Linked DNA regions of Homo sapiens: region 2 is linked to region 1. The links are contacts of gene promoters, found by promoter capture Hi-C in blood cells and fetal thymus (Javierre and others, 2016). All regions are on one chromosome and are shown on one strand. Each heading gives the region's core, a stretch centred on a gene start or on the middle of the fragment in contact. The rest is flanking DNA. Distances are from core to core; before and after follow the strand shown.

Region 1 (3,139 bases), core at 413-2,912:
GATTTGTAGAATTTTAGAAATATCTTTAAGTTCTTGAGCCCTGAGTTGCTGTTCTATGATTGTTGCTAAAATAGTTTATTTGGTTTATCTGTGCCCTGCACACACATATAGTGGCGGTAGTTCATTACTGCATATTAATATAGCCTGGAAGCATAGTAGCTACATTTATATTTAATTTTTTGACCTTGTATTGCCATTTGTGGATATTTTTGTATCAAAGTATTTCCATATTATGTTTTTGAATTTCACTTCTGAAATGATAATCAGAGACAACGTTAAATTTGATCATTTGGAATCAGTCTTTTACATAAAATGTAAGCTATTTAAAATAGTTAATTTTTAAAGCCACTATTGATGTCCCTTTGTTTAAAGTTCTATTCATGGTCACTATAATAACACGAGGCTCTATTGTGGGGTTATGCATAAACTCACACTACCTTATGTGATCTTATGTTAATGCTTTCCTTTTAGTATCTTCTTGTAGCTTGGTAATATTTAAAATTTGTTGATACTCTCTTTGGTTGTGTTCATTATCTTCATTTAGGGAGATGTTGGGGAAGATTTTGTTACTAAAAGCTGTTACATATTAAGGTTTTGTTTTAAAAGGACTTTGAAAAAAAAACTCTTAAGGTTTTCCTTGCTACTATTTAATGAAATTTCACTGCATTGTGTCTTTTGATAGCCATTTTTAAGAGAGCATTTAATTTACTAGATAAGGATTCAGTTTGACCTAATTTGATAGAATATTGCTGTGTTTTTTGTAAAGGGCTACAGATTTTTTTTTAAGTTTAATTTCTTAAGGAATCCTTTAAACACATCTTCTTCTTATTTGCCTTTTCCCTCTGATGTCTATTACCCAGAATTACTCCAAGCTACATATTTAGCTGCATAAAGCAGTGACAGCTTGTCTTCTAAACAATGACAAATTTTAAAATCAGATATTAAGAAACCTTTTCATAGTTTCAAGGGCAGTGAGCTGTATGAACTTGCTTATCAGGTATTAGTGCCTCCAGGGCTATAAAAAGGTAACACATTTAAATGACTATCATACACAAGATATTGACATACCTTCCTTGGTCAGGCCATTTATGTGAAGAGGATTATGCCCACTGAAAATACTTTTGGCACGCCATCACTTCAGCAAAAAAGATGCTATCGAACATGCGCACATCCCCCAACAGTCTGCCTCCTGCGATTGCTTTTCACAGTATCCAAAGTGTCCATCTGTCTGCTTGTCTTCGAGTTACCCTCCTTGTTCATATGGGTCCTAGTCTTCTGAAATTTTCCCTTTCTTTCATTTTCTCTCTTTCGTTAAACAAAAGAGCTGTAGTTGCCCGTTCTGCTTGTAGCACTGTTGACTCTTCCCGACAGTTGATGCATTGAAGCTTTTTACATCTGCTATTTTCCTGGCTGGACAATGCAGTGCTGTGTTCTCGTCTCAGTATCCATATTTCTACTAATAACACTGAGCTGCAATGTAAAGCAGCCAGAGCTAAAATGTAGTGCTTCAGTTGTATTGGAAAAGAATAGGATTTACCTCTCTTCTTTCGTTGTTGCCTGGCAGCTGCAGGAAGGATTTTGAGCAGTTTTAATGGGGTTTTAGTCTATAATATGAAATCCACGGTTCCTCAGCTGCTGCACAGGCAGGCAGCAGTTTAAATGTGGGCTTGACAGATGCTCTCTCTGACAGAGCAGAATTTAACGTCACTGCTTGGCTGAATCCCACGTGATTGTTTGCATTCATTTTGACTAAAAACCTAAGGTAGGGAGAAGCTTAGAGATTTTGCTTTTATGTGATAAATTATATATGTTGAATGCAAGTGTAGTGATGAGTGAATAATTTGAAAATGTGATGATTATGAAATGGTTATGATTTTATTTTTTCCAGCTTACTTCCTTTTTTAACTTTATTCTTAAGTACAGGCTTTCTAAGTGTTTTCTGTGTTAGATGTTGGTTTTCATGTTTCTTACATGCTTTTGTAGGGTGTAAGCAGTATAAGCTTTTGTGTGTAAGTTGGTGTAATTTAACCCCTTCAGTGCATTCTCTTCTTGAAGTTTTTTTTCTCTGCTTTCAAATTGCTCTTGATTTTTTACTAATATGTAGTTAAGACCTATGGTTTCTATTGAAACCATGTATCTTTGTAATTTAGATCCCCCCCCCCGTTTTCTGGGGTTTGTATAAATAAGCTGTCTTGGATTACTTTACTAATGCATGATGTGATACAGCCCACTTCTTTTTTGCTCTTATGTGGTTTTTGGTGTTCTTGATGGCAGAAAACTTTATTTTAAATCACTTTTTAATGTTGTCATTTATTTTTTATTTATTTTTCCTTCCCTTTAAAATTACATGTATCGTAGAATTCAGTAAAATGATGTAATAGATATAGCACACTTGTACAGGATCTGGGGGTAATGAGATTTTACTAATTATGTTTACTTATTCTAATGTTTCAGAAAGATTTAATAACTTGCCATGAGGCAGATTTTATTAACACTACACACTCACTGAGATTTTTCTAATATGGTTAGTTTCTGGGGCTGGCACCTTCTTTTCTTACTGCAGAGCAGTAGGGAAGGTTTTTTTAAATTTTTTGTTGTAGTAAAAAGCCTTTATTATCAGTTTTTCCTCTGTGACTCTAGGGACAGTAATTCAGTCCTAGAAAGTTATAGTTTTGGAGCTTAAGCTAAAGGTTAACAGTTATATACATATTCTTCATCTCACTGCCTCCACCATTAATATATGCTATTTCAAATGAATATGAATTTGTTTTCTCTGATATTAAAAAAAATTTTGTCCACATATTTTTGAGCTTTGCTGATGAAATGTGCTTTGTAGTTTTAAGAACCCCACTGTATTAGAAATGTTAGAAGGATCGTTAAAGAAAAAAAAGAATTTTATAAATAGGAAACCTAAAGCCTAGACTGAGCTTTGACTTTTCCTAGTTAAGTTTGAAGGAGAGGACTAAAACCCAACTTCCTTGTAGTCTATATCCACCCATACTGCAATTCTCACTCACTACCGTTTTGTTTTTAAAATTAGTTTACTAGTTAACAGAGTAATGCTTAAGAACTTACTTAAAATAACTTATTTTCCAGAAGTACAGATGTGTTTTTGTAGATCAGTATTTATTTATCAGTG
Region 2 (3,139 bases), core at 360-2,859, 570 kb after region 1:
TGGCTATCACGGTGTCAGAGGATCAGAGGGAAAAAGGTTTTTTTTGTTTTTTTTTTTTTAAACTGGGATTCATATGTCTTTCATACAGTGGGTCACCGCAGAGAAATTTGTAGCATATTGTACTCAGTCAAGTGGACATTATCCTTAGGTTCTAGTACCATCCAGCAAGAAAATCCAGGTGGCTGAACTAGAATTAAGTTTAAATCTTATAAGCTCCCTTTTGGCTGGGCTGCCACTAGGAGGATGTTCCAATGAGGTCAACTGGGGTAGCTGTTAGAAATAACAAAGATGCATTATGATTTTTGAATTGGGTCTATTTTATATTTAATTCTGATTATTAGCCAGAATATGACAAAAAATGTATGAAGGCTGATCTAAGGCCATCAAAATGAGGATAGGGAAAACATCTGGAGGTGTTAGCAGGTAATTTGTGTAGGAGATACAGGATGTTTGGCCATCCCTTGCTGTCTCCTGTAAATTTCTTGGTAAGGTTAGAGGGAATAGCATTAAATTTGGTAGAGCCATCTGGTGGGGGATAGCAGAACCAACAGTTAAATTTAATATGTTTGCAACCATTTGGGAATACTGTACCAGAACATTTTCCATGCAGAATTTTTTTTCTATCAACACTTAACTGCCTGAAAAAATGAACTTTAACACCTTCAAAAGAGACAAAAATATCCTGTCTTACTATTCATAATGTACAGCTTCCAATAAAAATTTACAGATATGAGTAATTGCTATAAAATGTGATTCATAATTAAGAAAAATCTATTACAGTAAACAGATCTAGTAATAACAGAGTTGATGGAATTATCAATCTGTAACTTTAAAACAAACTTAAATGCAATAGTTAAAAATTTTTAAAAAGGCAGTGTTTGAAAATAGCAGCTGATTAGAAACTGCAGAAGAAAGGATTGATGAACTTGAAAACACAGCAATAGGAACTATCTAAACTCAAGCACAGAGGGGGAAAAATTGAAAAAATAAACAGAAGCCGAGTAGTCTGTGTTACAATATCAAGCAGTCTTACATGTATGTGATTAGATTGCCCGAGAGAGGAGAGAGAAGAGACAGAAAAACATATTTAAAGAAATAGTGGCCAACATTTTCCTAAATTTGTGAGAATTATACGCCCCTAAATCTGAGCTTCCCAAAGAATCTCAAGCAGCACAAACACTAAGAAAATTATACTAAGGTTCATCCTACTCAAAGTGCTAGAAATCAGTAAGCAGAAGGAAAAATTTTTAAAGTAGTTAGAAGTAAAAAAAAAAAAATTACGGAACCAAGATTTTAAAAAAATGCAGACTGCACTTCAGAAAAACTGCAAGTTAAAAAACAATGTAATCATATCTTCATAGAAAGAAAAAATATATTATTCTAGAATTCTATATCTCATGGAAATACTATTCAATAAGAAGTCAAAAGCTTTTGTACACAAAATCTGAGAAAATTCATTTTTAGCAGAAGTATACTTGAAATAACATTAAAGGGACCTCAGGTTGAAGACAAATGATACCAGGTGGACACTTAGATTTACGCAAAAGAATAAAAAGCACTGGAAATATTCAATTAAAATCCTTTAAAAGATAATTGAATAGTTGAAGTAAAAACAACAGTGTAACATTTATAAAAGTAAAGACTGTGGTAACAGTATCACAAAGGATAAAAGAAGCAAAATTGAAGTATTCTGTCTTACAGTATATGAGAAGTGGTATATTCTTTCAAGGTAGAATGTGATCAGTTGCATACGGTGACTTTAGAACAACTGAAAATAATTAAAAGATGAATAAGCTTTTGGTGGAAGTAAAATTGAATGCTATAGGACAATTCAGAAGGTGGCAGGAAAATGGGAGAGGGAAGGAAAAAACCACATATGACAAATAGAAACAGAAGATGTAGATTTCAACTATTTAATAATTACATGAAATAAATTGCCTGTAAATATTACATATTATATATAAATTATTAATTTTCCCATGGTCTATACTATATATACTATATATAATATATATTTATATTAAATATAAATATATATTTAATATAAATATATATTAAAATTTATATAATATATTTATATAATATATATATTATATAAAATTCATGATCCCAATTTTGTTCACAACATTCAAAGCATTGTAAGGAACCAGTTGAACAGAAGCCTTCTCTCCCTCAGGCTGATTAGCATGTTGACCTTGGCTACATTAATGTCATAGAACTTCTTCACAGCTTGTTTGATCTGGTGCTTGTTGGCTTTATCATTCATAATGAACACAAGTGTGTTGTCTTCTTTCTTCTTCATAGCTAATTCAGTGGTCAGGGGGACTTGGTAATGGCATAGTGGTCAAGCTTGTTTCTCCTGGGGGCACTCTTCCAAGGATATTTAGGGTTCCTCCCAAGCCATAGTGTCTTGGGCCACTGGAAGGTAGGTGATGTGCATATCTTTTTCTGTGTGGCTGTGGATATCTTTGAGTACTGCCTTTTCGGCTTTCAAAGGCTTCGCTTCGGCCTGAGCTTTGGGAGGGGCAGGAGCTGCCTTCTTCAGCTTTGGCACCACCTTGTGAAAAACTGCCCTAGATATTTCAGTTCAAAGTCAGAGACTGTCAGAATAAAGACAAGCTCTAACTACTTACTACTGAAAAATATGCAATTTAAATATAAAAACAGATAAGTGGAAATTTTAAAAGATAGAAAAATATGTATCATGTTGATATTACAATGATCTCACCAGGAATAAAAAGAGGTTTCATAATGATGAAAGGGTCACTTTATCAAGAAGACATAAAGTCTTAAGTGAGTATTTACCTAATAACAGAGCTACAAAATGATATAGAAACAGTAGTAATTCTAAATAAAACCCAATAGAACTGAAAGAAGAAATAAGACAAATTTACAATGATAATTGAAAATTTCAGCACTCATCTTTTTCTGTTATTGATAGAGCTAGTATTGTAAAGTAAGAATATGGAAGATTTGAATAACACTATCCACCACCATGATTAAAGTCATATATCAATATAAAGATCAAATATATATATATTATATATATATATATGAAGAGAGAGCCCAATAAAACCAATAATAGCAGAGAAATAATTATTTTCAAATGCACATTAAATATGACAACTGATGACATATT

What was found. Contacts are between HindIII fragments. The CHiCAGO score rates a contact against its expected background, and 5 or more counts as called.
Region 2: a contact is called between a fragment that was not itself captured here and the fragment with the promoter of B3GALT2 in region 1, in 1 of 17 cell types (total B cells). The highest score is 5.1, in total B cells.

The regions. Positions count from the first base shown.
Region 1 is chr1:193,184,951-193,188,089 of GRCh38, forward strand. It overlaps B3GALT2 (beta-1,3-galactosyltransferase 2), which reads right to left and starts at 1,663. Exons shown (of 2, transcript NM_003783.3): 1 at 1,069-1,663. All of the region lies in intron 10 of CDC73 (cell division cycle 73), which reads left to right. The HindIII fragment of the contact is 388 bases long and covers 1,384-1,771 here.
Region 2 is chr1:193,754,711-193,757,849 of GRCh38, forward strand. The region is part of intron 3 of LOC124904475 (a long non-coding RNA gene); the gene reads left to right. It also overlaps the pseudogene RPL23AP22. Among named protein-coding and RNA genes, the nearest start is that of LINC01031, 450 kb to the left of the region's middle. The HindIII fragment of the contact is 366 bases long and covers 1,427-1,792 here.